2 separate regions of the Homo sapiens genome follow, and region 2 is linked to region 1. Evidence: promoter capture Hi-C in human tissues and cell types (Jung and others, 2019). All regions are on one chromosome and are shown on one strand. The core of a region is centred on a gene start or on the middle of the fragment in contact, and the rest is flanking DNA. Distances in the headings are between cores, read along the strand shown.

What was found. The method cuts DNA at HindIII sites, captures the fragments that hold promoters and counts their contacts. A contact is called where the count stands out against the background at its distance.
Region 2: a fragment that was not itself captured here is called in contact with the fragment with the promoter of CDH4 in region 1 in 1 of the 25 tissues and cell types used here (dorsolateral prefrontal cortex).

The regions. Positions count from the first base shown.
Region 1 is chr20:61,250,244-61,254,300 of GRCh38, forward strand. It overlaps CDH4 (cadherin 4), which reads left to right and starts at 2,018. Exons shown (of 16, transcript NM_001794.5): 1 at 2,018-2,327. The coding sequence starts at 2,271. The HindIII fragment of the contact is 10,940 bases long and covers 1-4,057 here.
Region 2 is chr20:60,166,396-60,170,452 of GRCh38, forward strand. All of the region lies in intron 2 of MIR646HG (MIR646 host gene), which reads left to right. Among named protein-coding and RNA genes, the nearest start is that of MIR646HG, 30 kb to the left of the region's middle. The HindIII fragment of the contact is 4,329 bases long and covers 1-4,057 here.

The DNA.
Region 1 (4,057 bases), core at 768-3,267:
GTGAGAATGCTGGCACTGCAGCTTTCCCCGTGCCTGCCCTCTGCACCCTCCTCTGCCTGACTGTATAGTGGAGTTAGAAGGACTCCAAGAGCAACTTTACATAAAGCTCCTACACATGTCCCTGGCACATAGCTAGCACCTTGTAAGGACAGGCTATTGTCAAACTCTACCCTTTCTGGAAATCACGCTGCAGTAGACTCAAGATTCATTCAGTAGTAGAGGGAGATGTGCTTAACACAGTGTTTGGAGTTCAGGACCCACCTGCTCCTGGACCCCAGTCTCCCTGCCACACACTCATACCTTTTCTTTTTCAAATTGGCGCGCTCCTCAGCGCTTCAACAGTTTCGCAGAGCACGTTGGAGCAAATGCGGGGGTCTGTGATGCCTCTCCAAAGAAATAACTCGCATAATGCTCAGGCCTCCTGCAGACAAAGGTGTATCCCCAGCGACAGATATTTTAAGAAAATAGACCAGGGACACAAGACAAGAGAGCTGTCTTGGTGTCTAAAGCAGTCTTGGACAGCTTCTGATGTCGCTCGAGCAGTGGTGAAGCACCTTGAATAAGGAGGAAAGCAGAGGGGGCGTCTTCCCAAAGGACGGGCACATGGCCGAGGAATGGAATTCTCTGTCCATGAGGATTTTGGATGGATCTGTTCATGAAACCTCACTGGCTACGCAGGACCTTCGAGTGAGTCTAAACCTCCAGCCATGTCAACTGGTAACCTCTCCTTCTTCGGCTAGGTGGGGAGTGGGACAAGGCCATAACTGATAGGAGTCCAGGCTGGGGCAGATTTTGTGTCTCCTGACTAGTTCCATAGTTAAGTTGCAAAACCGAATCTCGCCTTGTGCTCTCGGATGTAGTGCTTACTCTGGTCCTCTGGGGTTATCTAAAATCTGGTTTCCTTAAGCGTAAGGCAGAGCTCTAACCGGGAGACCACCCTGCCCCCAAGGGTGGGGGTTCTGGGAGGGAGAGAGGGAAGCGGCTGCTCTGTAGCTTTCTCTACTGGCTTGCCCAAGTGGACTCTGATCTTGGAGCTCAACAGTGTCACTCAATCTTCCACCCTCTCCTTTGCAACCTATTTCTTAAACCAGAACTAATGTATTCTGGACACAGAGTCCCTGAAACCCCAGACAAAGAAAATTCGATGTATCTGAACAAACAAAACCGCGTTTCTTTAAATCTCCAAGCCAAAAGGAAAAGTGCAGAAACATTTACTCACTGTCCGACCTGTACATATATTTTACCTGATAACCCTTAAAGAAGTGCCCCCCAGTTCAGCCATCACCCATGCAGGGCAAAGGGAGCTGGAGCTGGCCCAGCCTGTCGGCGCAGACACTCCTGACAGCTCCTGTCTGGGCACTTCTTTCTTTCTTGGAGCTTCTAATTTCTTTCTTGGCTTCTGAGGCCTAACAGGGTGTTTTGATGCACACACAGGAATTACTACCGTCCCCAATCCTAGGGTACATCCCTAGCCCAGGCCAGGGCTTTGAGTTTTCCTAGGAGCGGGAGGGTCTGCAAAGCCCCACAGGCTGAAATCTCAGCGTGGCCCTCTGCTCATCTGCTCCAGGTGGAAACTCTCACCCCTGAGCTGCCCGACCTGGGTTCAAGCCCGGGTCAGGGGAGTTAGCAAGGAGACACCTGAAAAATAAAAGGACAGAATGGAAGTGCACACTCCCACCGCGGGCCCGGGCGGGAAGTCGGACTAAGACCGCGGCGGGACCGCCCCATCCAGAAAGGGTGCCCCGGGTGTGGGGGCGGAAACCCCAGCGCTGTCTTCAGTCTCCACACCCGCGCCTTTTTCCCCTGGAAAACGAGCGTCCTTGGCCTCTTCGGCCGCAACCGGGCGGCTCCAGACGTCCAGGAGGGCAGAGGCTGGGCTGGTGCGGCGCGGGGGGCGCGGGCGCGGGCTCTGCGCCTTTAAGGCCCGCGTCGGCAGAGCGAGCGCAGGGGCCGGGCGGCGGGGCGGGGCCTCGGCGGGGCGGCCGCGGCTTCACCTGCAGCTCCGAGCGCGCGGAACAGAGGCGCGGGCGGCTGCGAGGCCGGCGGACGCACCGGCCCGAGGGAACGCGCCGCCGGCCGGACTTGGCCTGGCTCCCGGAGCCGGGGCGGCGAGCGCGGCGGGCGCAGCGGGGCTGGAGGCTCCGGGCAGGCGCGGGGGAGCGGCGGCGGCGGCGGCGATCGGAGCGGCGGCGGTGGTCTCGGCGGCGGCGGCGGCGGCGGCGGCAGGGAGCGGGCTCCCGGTGCCGGGCACCGGGCGGGCGGCGGGGAAGATGACCGCGGGCGCCGGCGTGCTCCTTCTGCTGCTCTCGCTCTCCGGCGCGCTCCGGGTAAGTTGCCGCCTCCCGCCCCCGCCGTTCGGAAGCCCCGGGCAGCGGGAGGTCGTCCCCGGATCCCGCGGGGCGCTCACACACCCGGCGGGGCTCTCCCGGGCTCCCCCGCCGCGCTCCCCGCTGCATCCAGCCCGGCGCCCGCGCTCGGCGAAGCTGCCTGCGGTCGGCAGGAGCGGGAAGCCGCCTGGGCAGCGGGGAGCGGCGGAGCAGGGTGGGAGTGGGGCTCGGTGGAGGACCCGGGGAGCTCCGCCTGCACCGGACCCGCCGAGCCTCCCTCGAACGCCCAAAGCCCGTAGCCGCTACCCGGAGCTCGGCTTGCCTGCATGGGGCAGGCTTCCACTGGCGGAGCCGGCGCGCCCTCCATCGCCCGGGAGCCGCGCGCCGCGGGAGTTGCCGAGCCCAGCCCCGGCCGTGGCTGAAGGCGTGGGGCGCCCGGCGGCTGCGGGCCAGGGATCCGCGAGTGCGGGGCGCCTGCCCGACCTCTCCTGCCCAAGGCCTGGGGGTCCGTCTAGCGGCGCCGCTCAGTTCTGTGGGTGCCGGCAGGACCCGCGCTGCGGGTGGGCGGCGGGGTAGGACTGCGGGGCACTCTCACCCCCGAGCCCTCGGCGGGGCTGGAGCCTGCGTGTCCGGCGGGGCCCCGGGGGCTGGGAGCTGGGCCGGGCTTGGGCCGGGAAGCCGGACGCCGGGCGGGCGCGGCGCGGGAGGGCGCCCCGGGAGGGCGAGCGGGTCTCCCGCTGCCTCTGCAGAGCCCCGCGGGCCGGATTGCCAGCTTTGCTCTGCGCCTGGCGAGGTGCGCGGCCCGCGGGGGCAGAGAGCGCGGCGGCTCCGGGGGCGCCCCTGGGCGGAGGCGGAGGGGCGGCGGGAGTTGCAGGAACCCCCTCTCGTGGCCGATCGGCCTCGCTGCCTTCTCCCGGGCAGCGCTGTTGTAACCTCGGAAATAAACAAGTGCCAGCGGCGGGAGGCCCGCTCCGAGGCCGCGGGGCGCTGGGGGACGCGCTGGGCACACGCTTCGGGCGGGCGGAAACTTTCCTGGGCGAGTTGAGCCTCCCACCGGGCTGCGGGTGCGATTTGGAGCTTCGTGGCCGATGAAGAAAGCCGCGGTTTAGAGCTTTTCGTAAGGAATGACCCTGCGTCCCGCTCTCCTCCCTCGGTGCTGGGGGTAGAGGGGCGCCCTCCGCGGTGCCGGCGTCGGGAAGCCTGGAGCTCCGGGCTGGGGGCGGCCTCCGGAGTCGAAGCATGGGCGGGCGACGGCAGCGCGCGGAGCTGGAGGAGGCGGCGGGCGGGAGGCGCCACTGCCCGGTGCGGGCTGCACCCGAGGCTTCCTGCGCTCGCCGGGGAGCCAAGCACCGCTGTGCTCCTGCTCCTTCAGCGGGGCTGGCTTCCCGCTTGCACACACTGCCTCTCCCTCCACCACCTCCTCCTGCCTGTCACGCCCCCTCCCAGAAGCTTGGTCGGAGGGCCCTGTCGTCCACCCCATCCTTCCCTGGCCCTGTGCCATGGGCTCTAGACTTCCCCACTGAGCAGGAAAGGCGAGCGAGCTCCGGAGGACAGGAGGAGACCCCCTTTCCGGTCAGTTAGGGGAGCCGTCTCCCTGCCTGGGCTGGAGATGGGGGCTCCGAGGGTGAAAATGCGGGCTGAAGACTAGAAGGTGGAAGCGCCCCCACTGCCTCCTCACCCCAGCCACCGGCAGCCTCCCGCAGAGCTGCCTTCTTCGACCGGCTCCGGAC
Region 2 (4,057 bases), core at 789-3,288, 1.1 Mb before region 1:
AGTTACTGAAATCCAGCTCAAAACATAGGTTCATTTCCCTTTTAAAAGGGAATTTATTGTCTCATATAATGGAAAAGCCAGAAGCCAGCATCCCAGGCATGGTGGATCCAGGTGCATAAATGGCGTCCTCAGGAATCAGTTCCTGTTCTCGTGTCTTTCCACCTGGTGATGAAGGTGGTCACCAGGAGTTTCTGGCCACATCTTACCAGTTTAGCAACCCTGCTATAAAGAGCACTAAGGCTCTCGTTAGCCTAGCTGTGGTCACATTTGCAGCCCTAAGCACATCACTTGGCCAGGGGGATGCTGTCCATTGGCCAAGCTTGGGTCCCAGGCCCACCTCTGAAACCACAATATGGGTTCAACCTCCCATACGCCAAATGGCAGAGGGTAGTTCTTTGGTGGAAACTTTGTCTCCACAACCTAGAAAAGGGAGAATGAACATTGGGCAGGCAGAAATCACAACAGACATCTTTTGTGGAATTTTAAATAACTTCTGGAATATTAGTCACTGCTCTGTCTAGCCTGACTGTTTCCAGGCTTGCTAAAGGAACAATAGCAAGGCTGACTTGAAATGCTGGCAGAAGCTTTGCTGTTCTGTATTTGAGGGTAAAAGAAGGAGCAGTTTGAGGAGAATGTGAATGTTGAGCTGTCCATCTGTCTTTCTCTCTAAGGATGCAAAAGCAAGAATGGTCAGATATACATTTACTGATGGATCGTTGACTTTTTAAAATTCCTATGAAAAAGCAACCTGTAATCCTTTGAGATTTTAGAAGTGATAAAATGAATCCCCTCTAGTCAACTACCCTAATGGGAAATACAACAGACACTTATTTATTCTAGCTTTACATTAACAAAGGTTATGTGATAGAATAGCTTTCAAGAATGCTGTTTCTAGAACTTTCTGTTTGGTCAAAGAATGAATATTATACAGTCACAAACACATGGCCAGCCACCTGAGGAAAGGCAGCATCTAAATGACACTATGAGATAGGAAGTTCAAATAGTCAAGTGTTTATTAAGGTGGGTATTCTGAAGTCTCATCAAACTTTAGCCCACATATATTGAGCAATGACTGTATACTGTATGATTTACTGTGCCTTGGGCATGCAGATATATTAATGACATGACCTCTGGTGTCTAACAGGGATGATCTGCTTATAACAGGTTCTACATCAGATTAATTCAAAGAAAATGGAGAAGAGGACTTATAGTGAAATGTCAGGAATTTTATGTTTTTCAATAAATGGAGCTTCATTCCTAGACCTACTGATGGAATGAATAGAGTAAAATTCAATTTTAGGATTTTTGTTCCAAAAGTCCTTACAGCTAAGGGGCGTAGATGTTAATCTCTGAAATGGGTGAGTTTGTTTTGTCTTAAATTGTGTACTGCCAGGATATATGATGTCAGACAAAATAGATTCAGGCATTGATTTCCGGGTGAGTTTAATTGATTGCTATTTCTTTCTGCTTGACTAGAGATTGAGGTTTGCTGATGTTTCTGCATGTCTAATATAATTTCCATTTGGTATTTGGCTTGCTTATGTAAAGGAATACATATTCAATTGAGTTGAGAAAGACCAGACCATGGTTGTTCAAAACCCTGGGGATGTGGCTTATGCTTGTTAGCACTTAGTCTTCTCTGGTTTCTACACACAGTTTCATTGTGACACCAAGCTCCCTGTCAACTTTCACCACAAAATAAGTACAAAAATATTTACATGGGTGTAAAGACTGATGGTTGCCTTAACATCTATGGCCAGTGGAGGGAAATAACTCATTAGAAGGATTAGAAGACCTGGGCCAATTTAAAATTATGTATAAATGCCAGATTCTAATGAGCATTTCAGCCACAGTGGGTGACAGTAAATTAATGTAAGCAAGGTTTGTCTTCTTTTCTTTACTTTCTCAAATCTCAGTGGGAGACATGTAGAGTTGGGGCCTGTTGCTACCATCTCAAGTACAAACATTTCTTTATGTCTGTAGTGAAAGTGGGGATCTGTTGTTGGGTCATTTCAGCCCATCTCAACAAATGCAGGTATCGAAGTGTGTGTTTGCAGGATGAAGACAAGCTGCATTCCAGGAAGAAAGTTTTCAGGCAAATAGTTTCAGGACCAATCATCAGTTATATCAGGACAAACAGGACTTCTTCATGATCGAGGGAGCCCAGGCTATTGTCAATTCCTGAAGCTTCCAATACATTGAAAAATGAAGGAATCTTGAAACAGGTTATAAAAATTGGATATATTTATATTCTTTTCATTGAAGAAATTTATGCTTTTTACACAGTCAAGTGCAGTGACTAAATGCGTGATCTTACTTGAGGATATGTCTAGCAATTACTCCCTGGACATTTGGGAATATAAGGCCAATACCATGAAAGACAGAGGGCAGAGGAAGAAGGAAGCTGGATTTTAGGCTATGTCACTGAACCACTGAATGACTCCTCACCTGAAATCCTCAGGTAAATGTCCTACTGCTATACTCTTCGTAGTTGAGCCAGTAAATTATTTTCTAAGTCAGGATGAGTTAGGTGCTGGTTCCTTGCAGCTGAAATCATCCTAGCTGATGTGGACCTGCTTCTGCCCAGTGCCTCCACCCTTTAACCACTCTTAGCACTCACACAATGCTGAGGCTGTCTTCATTTAATTGAAAGGTTAATTATAGGTGGAGGTCTGTTGTAGAATATGTGGTTATTTTGGTCTCTGCAACAGTAAACAGGTTTGACAGTGCTCTGACTGACTTGACTGGATGGATGGATTGTTGATATGACATAATTCTAGCTATTAGCTGTCAATCCTTTCATCCTGAAAGATGCTGTTTTCTCATTTCTTTACACTGGTTTGACAATTTATACAGCTTGAAATGCTTTCCTATGCATTATCTCATCTGATCATAAATCCACACTTGGGGTTATAGAATAGACATTTTCTACTTTTTCAGTGGAGGAAGCTGAGACAGCAGCCGCCCCAGGCCAACATAAACATAGAATCCAGGGCTCCCCATGAAATGTGTGTGACCTCCCTGGCTCCACATGGATGGGCCAGTCTAATCAGTGTCTGCATTGTTGGTCTGCATTAGGCTATAAGCGACTGAATACAGTGACTCAGACCAATCCAAGCAGCAAGGATATCCATGGTGCTATGTAACAAGAAATTCGGAGTCAGAATGCGGTCTAGGCATGGATGTCAGGCTCTGGAGACTATCTGCATTTTTCTGGTCTCCCATTGCCTTTGAGGGATTGGCGTCATCCTCCAGAGATGGCAAGGTGGCCACAGCTGATCCAGGCATTATCTGACTCAACAACATCCAGGAGCAGGACCTTCTCTTCTCCTGTTCTTTATTGGAGCCTGGAAACCTTTTCCATAAGGACATGCAGCAGACATTTCCATTTTATCTGCACTGGGTCCATGCCCACTCCCCCATCAGTCATTGAAGGGGAAAGGGAGCCTATAATCCTCTTAGAATAACCTGCTGATGAGAATCAGTTGTTGGATAGTGAACCACAGTAACCCCCACAGCATGCATCTAAAATGCGCTGACCTAGAGTATGCAGCAGGTGAAGAAAGTTGGCCTGGACATGGTGGATGGCTGCTGTCACAGCCCCTCATTTGTTCATGCCTCTCTGTGTCCTGGTATTTGCGTCAGTGTGGTCCACTCTCACGCTGACTCAGGACCTGGCCAGAGGACTTGTTTAGGTCAATGAGAAAAAAATCAAATATTACACAAAGGGCTTGTCTTCTATTTGCTCTTGGGAACTGTTACGGACTGATTGCATCCCACTAAAATTCATAGGTTGAAGCCCTAACTCCCAATGTGACTGTATTTGAATGTAAAGCCTTTAAGGAAGTAATTAAAGTTAAATGTGGCCAGAAGGGTAGGGCCCTACTCTGATAGGACTGTGTTCTTATAAGAGGAGGGAGAGATACCAGAGACTACTTCCTCTCCACAGGCTCACAGAGGAAAGGTCACATGAGGACAGAGCAAGAAGGCACCCGTCCACAAGCCAGGAAGAGAGGCCTCACTGGAAACCAGTCCTGCTGGCATCTTGATCTTAAAT